2 separate regions of the Homo sapiens genome follow, and region 1 is linked to region 2. The links are contacts of gene promoters, found by promoter capture Hi-C in human tissues and cell types (Jung and others, 2019). All regions are on one chromosome and are shown on one strand. The core of a region is centred on a gene start or on the middle of the fragment in contact, and the rest is flanking DNA. Distances in the headings are between cores, read along the strand shown. Region 1 overlaps VIL1 (villin 1). Region 2 holds the start of TTLL4 (tubulin tyrosine ligase like 4).

Region 1 (4,708 bases), core at 434-2,933, 280 kb before region 2:
CCCTAACTTGAGTCCACATTTCCACAATCCATAGTCATCTTCTTTTTTTAAAATTTTTTTCCGGATGGAGTCTCACTCTGTCACCCAGGCTGGAGTGCAGTGGAGCGACCTCGGCTCACTGCAACCTCCACTTCCCGGGTTCAAGCGATTCTCCTGCCTCAGCCTCTTGAGTAGCTTGGACTACAGGCACGTGCCACCACAGTCAGCTAATTTTTTTGTATTTTTTAGTAGAAACGGGGTTTCACCATGTTGATCAGGCTGGTTTCGAACTCTTGACCTCAGGTGATCCACTCGCCTCAGCCTCCCAAAATGCTGGGATTACAGGCATGAGCCACCATGCCCAGCCTGGCAGTCATCTTCATATCACCTTGATTTTCACCATACCCTGGTACCACCTGTACTATTAAGACATTTGTATTTTTTTCTTTATATTGACTCATTTTAAATTTTTATTTTATTTTATGTATTTATTATTATTATTTTTTGAGACAGAGTCTCGCTCTGTCGCCCAGGCTGGAGTGCAATGGCACAATCTTGGCTCACTGCAAACTCTGCCTCCTGGATTCAAGCGATTCTCGTGGCTCAGCCTCCTGAGTAGCTGGGATTACAGGCATCTGCCCCCACACCTGGCTAATTTTTGTATTTTTAGTAAAGACAGGGTTTTGCCATGTTGGCCAGGCTGGTCTTCAACTCCTGACCTCAGGTGATCCACTTGCCTCGACCTCCCAAAGTGCTGGGATTACAGGCGTGAGCCACTGTGCCTGGCACAAGCAAGTTATTTCTGAGATGAGGCAAGGGAGGCCCAGAGAGGAGAAGCCATGTCTCAGAGAGTCAATGGTAGAGCTGGGCCATGACTCAGGGCTCCTAACCGCCAGCCTAGTGCACTTGCCCTGTGCCACGCTCCCCCATAGTCCTGGACGGCACGTGTGTGGGAGGTCACACAGAGCTGGAGGGGCTGTGGGAGCCCAGGGTCTCGGGTACACTGGACACCTTTTCCCTAGATCCACAAGACAGCCAGCAGCCTGTCCTATGACATCCACTACTGGATTGGCCAGGACTCATCCCTGGATGAGCAGGGGGCAGCTGCCATCTACACCACACAGATGGATGACTTCCTGAAGGGCCGGGCTGTGCAGCACCGCGAGGTCCAGGGCAACGAGAGCGAGGCCTTCCGAGGCTACTTCAAGCAAGGCCTTGTGTAGGGAGGGTGGGCTGCAGGCCGGGGGAATGAGGATGAGTGGTAGGGATAGAGATGTTGGGGCTGAGCTGAAGAGGCAGGGACACCCAGACCTGTTCAGGCCTGGGAAGAACACTTGGAGCAGGGGGAGGTGACCTGGGGCGGGGAAGGGACCCTGAAGCTGTGGGGGGAGGCACGAGGGGGACCCTCATGAGTTTTTGGTGATTGTCCCTCACCTTTCCACTCCCTAACTCTTATTTCTGCCACTGCTCTGTCCTTGGTCTGGAGGCTGTTCTGAAATTCTATAACTCTCGTGAATCTCTGTAAATCAGCTCCTACTTGAATGTCCTGGAGAGCTCAGTGCCTAATCAAGCCCCCCAACTCTGGCCAACGGGCAAATGGCTGCTCCCCCATCTCTAATGCAGGCCTATCACACTAAAAACCAAGACCGACAGCTTTTCTTTTTCTTCCTTTTTTTTTTTGAGATGGAGTCTTGCTTTGTTGCCCAGGCTGGAGTACAGTGGCACAGTCTTGGCTCACTGCAAACTCCGCCTCCTGGGCTCAAGCGATTCTCATGCCTCAGCCTCCCCAGTAGCTGGGATTACAGGCACACACCACCAGGCCTGGCTAATTTTTGTATTTTTAGTAGAGACAGGGTTTCACCACGGGCAGGCTGATCTCAAACTCCTGACCTCAAGTGATCCATCTGCCTCAGTCTCCCAAGGTGCTGGGATTATAGGCGTGAGCCACTTCGTCTGGCCCCACCTCAGCCTCTTGAGTAACTGGGACTACAGGCCCGAGCCACCATGCCCAGCTAATTTTTTTTTTTGAGACAGAGTCTTGTTCTGCCGCCCAGGCTGGAGTGCAGTGGCGCGATCTCAACTCACTGCAAGCTCTGCCTCCCAGGCTCACGCCATTCTCCTGCCTCAGCCTCCCCAGCAGCTGGGACTACAGGTGCCCACCACCACGTCCGGCTAATTTTTTTGTATTTTTAGTAGAGACAGGGTTTCACCGTGTTAGCCAGGATGGTCTCAATCTCCTGACCTCATGATCTGCCCGCCTTGGCCTCCCAAAGTGCTGGGATTACAGGCGTGAGCCACCATGCCTGGCCAGCACTAATTTTTTAATATATATATTTTGTAGAGACGAAGGTCTTGCTCTGTTGCCCAGGCTGGTCTCATACTCCTGGGCTCAAGTGATTCTCCCACCTCAGCCTCCTGAAGTCCTGGGATTACAGGCATGAGCTACCACTCCCAGCCCAGACTGCTGGCTTTTCTATACAAGTTGAAGTTCTAGCTTAGCTTTCCCCAGGAAAACACACACTCTGGAGCTGAGTTGTTACTGACCTGTAGGACAGGCTGAGGGCTCTCTAATTAGCCACAGTTCCCACTCTTTTTTTGTCTTGCTCCTCTCTTCCCACGCTATGGCAGTAGTCCACTGCCATGGGCACTGGAGTGGCACCTCTCCATTCTTTTCTTTTCTTCCACTTTGATCCCCTGTCCTCAGGATTCTGTCCCTATTTATTAATACATTTCCTTTTTTTTTTTTTTTGAGATGGAGTCTCACTCTGTCGCTTAGGCTAGAGTGCAATGGTGCGATCTCGGCTCACTGCAAACCTCCGCCTCCTGGGTTCAAGCAATTCTTCTGCCTCAGCCTCCTGAGTAGCTGGGATTACAGGCACCCGCCACCATGCCCAGCTAATTTTTTGTATTTTTAGTAGAGATGGGGCTTCACCATGTTGGCCAGGCTGGTCTGGAACTCCTGACCTCAAATGATCTGCCCACCTCGGCCTCCCAAAGTGCTGGGATTATAGGTGTGAGTCACCGCACCTGGCCTATTAATATATTTCCTACTCTTAATATATCATGACCCTATCTTTGCAGGCCTCTCCACAGGGCAGGGACTAGGGCAAGACGAGTGAAGATCTAGGGTGCAGACTTTAAGGTTGCTCTCACTGTCAGGGTCGTGCAAGGGCATGCCACAGGCAGACCTTGCACTTTCAGGACCTGACAGTGAGTGACTCCCTAAAGTTTGCGCCCTCAGCACCTCATTGACCTCGCCTACTCCCACCCTGGCCCTCACGTGACCCCAGCGTGGCAGCCAGGACCTGGGAGAACAGGGGCCAGGCACACCTCCCAGCCCACTTCCTTGGGTCAGCTCACCTCTCTTCTCAGGATCCGGAAAGGGGGCGTGGCTTCTGGCATGAAGCACGTGGAGACCAACTCCTATGACGTCCAGAGGCTGCTGCATGTCAAGGGCAAGAGGAACGTGGTAGCTGGAGAGGTAGGCAGGCCCCACTGGAGCATCGGCCAGGGCTGTGAGGCCCAGGGTGGAGGGCAGGGGCTGAGGAGGGGTGAGGGGCAGGGAGGGATGGCCAAGATGATGGATGATAGGTGAGCTCTGAGTGGGGTCTGTGCCTCCCCTGTGGCTCCCTAGGTAGAGATGTCCTGGAAGAGTTTCAACCGAGGGGATGTTTTCCTCCTGGACCTTGGGAAGCTTATCATCCAGTGGAATGGACCGGAAAGCACCCGTATGGAGAGACTCAGGGTAAACCTGCCCATGCACCACACCTCCCTCTCGAATCCTAGACTGCCCCCACCTGCTCCTTTCCCCAGGCCTCTCCCCGCTGACTGCTGGGGACAGCATGTTTGAAGGTGGCTCAGTCTCCATGTGTTTGGTGCAGGCATGCATGTTGGAGTTTGCGTGTGTGTACTTGTGGTCAATCCACTCAGATAGAATGAGTCTCTACAGTGTGACAGAGCCTGTGCCAAGCCTTAGGGATCCAGTGGTGAATGAAATGGGCATGGACATACGTGTGTTTATACTCACAGTACATTGACGCTGTGTGTGCACTGTGAGACTGCAGGCATGTTTGGGTGCAAAGAGATTTTTTTTTTGGAAACACAGTTTTGCTCTTTTTGCCCAGGCTGGAGTGCAATGGCGCAATCTCAGCTCACCGCAACCTCCGCCTTCTGGGTTCAAGTGATTCTCCTGCTTCAGCCTCCCGAGTAGCTGGGATTACAGGCGTGCATCACCACACCTGGCTAATTTTTTGTATTTTTAGTGGAGACAGGGTTTCACCATGGCCAGGCTGGTCTTGAACTCCTGATCTCAGGTGATCCACCCGCCTCGGCCTCCCAGAGTGTTGGGATTACAGGCATGAACATGATTGAGTACTGTGATCCTTGGGGCTCAGCTCGTGTCCCGAACTGTGAAGTCTAAGCACACATTTCCCACACTGTCAGAACAGAAGGCCCAGCAAGCCCGCTTGAGCACCTCCCTGACAGTGGGGAAACCTGCTCTCCCAGCTGCCTTCCCCCTGGTTTCCTTACATGCCTTAAAAGCTTGACCCCTCCGACGGGGAAAAGCAGGGCAGGGGTCTCAACCCCTGTGGCTGCTGTAGGTGGTCTGGGCTTGCCTGGCAGGGTGTAGGGTGGCAGACACTGCCTCATTCCCCGACTACTCCCGATGGGTCACCAGGGGCCTTCCTGCAGGGCATGACTCTGGCCAAGGAGATCCGAGACCAGGAGC
Region 2 (4,691 bases), core at 902-3,401:
GGACTTCCCATCTCATCATAGCCAGGAATTCAGTTTTTTTTTTCTTTCTTTTTTTTTTTTTTCAAAGAGTCTTGCTTTGTTGCCCAGGCTGGAGTGCAGTGGTGCGATCTTGGCTCACTGCAAGCTCTGCCTCCCGGGTTCACGCCATTCTCCTGCCTCAGCCTCCCTAGTAGCTGGGACTACAGGCGCCCGTCACCACGCCTAGCTAATTTTTTGTATTTTTAGTACAGGTGGGGTTTCACCGTGTTAGCCAGGATGGTCTCGATCTCCTGACCTCGTGATCCGCCCGCCTTGGCCTCTCAAAGTGCTGGGATTACAGGCGTAAGCCACTGCGCCCGGCCGGGAACTCAGTTTTTAAGGTTGCTCTAGTGTCCCCTTAGCCACGATGGGGTCCATTAAGTTGGTTGGGGTGGTACTTAAAATTTTTATTTCTCAGTCTCAAAAATGTCATTTTACAGTTTGTTTGAATCAGGATCCAAACAAGCTGCACTCATTGCATTTGAATATATTTCTTTTTTTTTTCTCAAGAGGGAGTCTTGCTCTGTTGCCCAGGGTGGAATGCAGTGGCACAATCTTGGCTCACTGCAACTTCTGTCTCCTGGGTTCAAGCGATTCTCCTGTCTCAGCCTCCTGAGTAGCTGGGGGCTACAGGTGTGCACCACCATGCCTGGCTAATTTTTGTATTTTTTGTTGGAGACGGGGTTTCACCATGTTGCCCAGGCTGGTCTTGAACTCCTGACCTCAAGTGATCCTCAGAGTGTTGGGATTACAAGTGTGAGCCACTGTACCTGGCCAACATTTGAATATATTTCTTAAATCTCTTATAATCTAAAACATCTCTCCTCATTTTTATACCCTAAAATTGTTGAAGGAAGAAGAGGTCATTTATTCTGTACATTGGCTCACATTCTGGATTTGTTTGATTGCTTTCTTGTAGTGTTATACAGTTGTTTCTCTTTATTTCTTGTTAACTGGAAATTACAGCCAAAACTTGATTAGAGTCACTCAACTTTTTTTTTTACAAAAATACGCTATACTTCATAAATATTTCTGTTCAATTGCATCACATCAAGAAACAATGCTCAGCTGTCCCATGTTTCGTGATCTAAGATTGATTAGTACATGTAGGTTATCTTCAGTGTACATCCTTCAGTGTAAAATTCTCCCATAAATTATCTAATACTTTTAGCATCCATCAACGACTGTTGACTAAATAAGTTATTTATTGAGATCCTTCCTCTGGTCCAGACTGTTTTCATCAGATTAGTTTTATCTTTGTCCCCTTTATTTCTGTAGCCAATTGCCTAGGAAAGATCCTTTCATCTTCCAGCTTTCTTAGATCTCCAAATCTCTCAGGTCTACGGACATCTGAGGCAGGAGCGCGATCTGGCTTGCCTGGGGAGCTAACGAGATAAGGAATTGAGTCAGTATTTCCTAACGTTCACACTTGAAGCCCATAAAGCAGGCAGGTGGTTTTAATTTTGCCCCGCTGGGTGGGTTGGGGTTAGGGAAGGATGGGTTAGAGGGAGGCAGAGTGAATCGGGCAATCTCCCCTTTCCTGCGGTCAAACTCAAAGGCTTTTTCTAGAAATCCTTCAACTGAGCCTGGGCCCTTTGATTTTCAATTGAGGCAAGGCCAAAGAGTCCAGGCCAGGCGTGGGGGCTCCCGTTGTAATCCCAGCGACCAGGAGGCTGATGCAGGAGGATCACTTGAGGCCAAGAGTTTAAGACCAGTCTGGGTAACATAGTGAGACCCTGTCCTGAGAAAAAAAATTTAAAAATAGCCCAGCATGGTGGCGTGCCTGTAGTCCCAGCTACTCGGAAGGCTGGGGGCGGGCGGATCGCTTGAGCAGGAGTTCAAGTTCGCAGTGAGCTATGATCACGTCGCTGCACTCCAGCCTGGGCGACAGAGCGAGATTCTGTCTCTAAAAAAGAAAACAGTCCATAGGGAGTAGGTGGAATTAGAGTAGAAAGAGAGAGTCCTGGATGCTCCGAATGGAGCCTTTCAGAGCTTTAACCACGGGACTACATCTCCCAGAATTCCGCTCGCCGGATCCCACCGCACTGAAGGGACTGCGCGTGCGCGAGTCAGGTGACGACCCGCCCCTACAGGCCCCAGAACCCCCGAGATTCCCCGCGCTTGCCTCCCGCCCTCTTCTTCCAGACTCTCGGTCTGTCCGCTGGGGGCGCGCGCGGTGTGTGGCAGGCGGCAGCGGCGCTGGCGGCCGAGTGCGCTTGTCACGCGTGGCGGTGCGTGGTTGCTAGGGGCGCCTGAGGCTGCCGGGTAGCCCAGCAGGCCGAGGGAGGAAGTAGCGTGGAGCCGGTGCCGAGCCGGGGCGAAGCTGGATCCCCTAGGTGAGTGCGGCTGCGGAGCCAGGGGAGCCGACCCCAGACACTCCGCCGGTCCCACGCTCCCGACCTCCCTCTACCTGAGTCCTTTCGCGCGGGTCCCCAGCCCTCCGGCCACTCTCACCCTAGCCCCGCTTCCTCCCGCCACCTCTCATCCCCCGGGAGGCCAGGGAGCCGCGGCCTCCTACCCGGCCGGGACTTCGCGCCTCCTCGGAGCCCTTCTCCTCTCCGCCACGCCCCGCGAACTTAGTCGGCCTCGCCTCCGGGTGCCCGAACACTGCCTCATCCCCTAGTTATGGCCTCCGAGCTTCCTCTGTCCTGCCGCGCTGAGGTTTAAATTCCCTCTGGGTGTGAGCCCAAGCTCCTCGCAGGCTCCAGGGCCGAATTTAACATGGATATCTGCTTTTTCACTTCTCCATCCTCAGTATCTGTAGAAGAATACGTTCCTAAACTCCACAGATTCAAACAGGATCTGAGATCCTGTGGAATTTAATTCTTCATTCATCAATTCCTTTATTTAATCATTCACTAAACAATTTTTAGTAAACATTGACAAATATTTAATGAGCCTGGGTACAATGGGAGGGATTGAGGGGATAGAGTGGCTAATAGGACAAGCATGTTTTCACGGAATTTACAGTCTAGGAGATTATTAATCAAGTAAACGAGCATTTGCCATACTGTGGTGTGTGCTGTGATAGAACAGGAAATACTTAATCCGGACTTACTTAGAAAACGACATTATTGCCATTCCTCCTGGTCTTCACATTCCCATTCTGGATCTCGGAAATATTTTAATCCTTCCTTGATGAAATCTTCTTTGCTTTCTCAGATACTACAAATCACCTATTCTTTAACTGCAGCACCTGTTGATTTAGCATTTGGGGGACCCTTTGGGACAGTGTTCCATCCCATCCTTCTGTTTCTTGCACTGAATACTGAGACACTGTTTGCATTTAAACCACCCACTTTGTGCTCAGAAAGTTAGCAGCTACTTATATTGGACTGAATCAATCCTTGAAAAATTATCAAGTGTTTTCTGCGAATAGAGAGGTGGGAGGACATTCCAGATACACAGTGGCTTTAGGAAAGGGACAGCAAGTCCTGAAAAGAGAACTGGAAACAGTTTGACAGACCTGGGCTAGATTTGGAGGGAGCCATCCAGTAACAAATAGAAAGAGTGAAGTTAATAGGGGTTAGATCACAAAGGGCCTTGGATGTTTTGCTGAGTTAGAACTATATCCCTGGAGCAGTGGTTTTCAAGCTGGAGTAATCAGGGTTGTAGACTTCCAAGGGATACACTTGCACGTCTAGCTTAACATGAATACATTTCCAGATCCTCAGCTTCCCAGTGAACTTTTTTTTTTTTTTTTGAGACAGAGTCTTGCTCCGTCACCCAGGCTGGAGTGCAATGGCACGATCTTGGCTCACTGCAACTTCCACCTCCTGGGTTCAAGCGATTCTCCTACCTCATTCTCCGGAGTAGCTGGGATTAGAGGCGCATGCTGCCACGCTCGGTTAATTTTTTGTATTTTTTAGTAGAGACGGGGTTTCACCATCTTGGCCAGGCTGGTCTCAAACTCCTGACCTCGTGATTCACCCGCCTCGGCCTCCCAAAATGTTGGGATTACAGGTGTGAGCCACCGCGCCCGGCCCCAATGAACTCTTTTTCTAAAACTTCCCTTACAAAAAAAGGGTAGGAGGCTGTGTGTGGCAAATCCCTCACACTTCCCAAATTTTAATATGGTGTATTGGCCTGAGTGTAAAAATGTCCTCAGATACAAATAAGGACTACTTTGGAAATATTTATTTTCAGGAACACCTCCTTTAGTGATTTAAGTTACCTCCCAACCCAGAAGGCTTGCCAATACACAATCCCATTCGTGTAAACTGTATTCTTTGTTAAGATATTCTGAAAAGAACACAACAGTTAAATGTAACGGGAATGTCTTTTGGGACAATGGAATTTTTAAGTTATTTGGATAAAACTTGCGTAAAATTTTTAAAGAGATTTCTTTTAGTTCAGGTGTGTGTTACTCAGTAAGATAGTTAATACCTATTTTAAGACTGGGTGTTGTGGCTCACACCTGTAAATCCAACACTTTGGGAGCCTGAGGCAGGCTGATCGCTTGAGACCCAGGAATTCGAGACCAGCCTGGGCAACATGGCGAAACCTCTTCTCTACAAAAAAAAATATGTAAAAATTAGCCAAGCATGGTAGCGTGCTCTTATAGTCCCAGCTATTTGTAGGCTGAGGTGGGAGGATGTATTGAGCCCAGGAGGTTATCCAGGCTGGAGTGCCATGGTGTGATCATAGCTCACTGTAAACTCCAACTCCTGGGT

The links. Contacts are between HindIII fragments. The study calls those that stand out against the background at their distance.
Region 1: a fragment that was not itself captured here is called in contact with the fragment with the promoter of TTLL4 in region 2 in 1 of the 25 tissues and cell types used here (aorta).

What each region holds. Positions count from the first base shown.
Region 1 is chr2:218,424,614-218,429,321 of GRCh38, forward strand. VIL1 (villin 1) reads left to right here. Exons shown (of 20, transcript NM_007127.3): 4 at 1,002-1,198; 5 at 3,352-3,460; 6 at 3,614-3,724; 7 at 4,672-4,708. Among named protein-coding and RNA genes, the nearest start is that of VIL1, 7.8 kb to the left of the region's middle. RefSeq lists an enhancer at 1-293 and a silencer at 1,176-1,393. The HindIII fragment of the contact is 4,827 bases long and covers 1-4,097 here.
Region 2 is chr2:218,708,684-218,713,374 of GRCh38, forward strand. TTLL4 (tubulin tyrosine ligase like 4) reads left to right here and starts at 2,152. Exons shown (of 20, transcript NM_014640.5): 1 at 2,152-2,354. LOC124907983 (a long non-coding RNA gene) reads right to left here and starts at 2,801. Exons shown (of 2, transcript XR_007088089.1): 1 at 2,537-2,801; 2 at 919-1,403. RefSeq lists an enhancer at 1,954-2,053 and silencers at 2,434-2,483, 2,494-2,543. The HindIII fragment of the contact is 14,281 bases long and covers 1-4,691 here.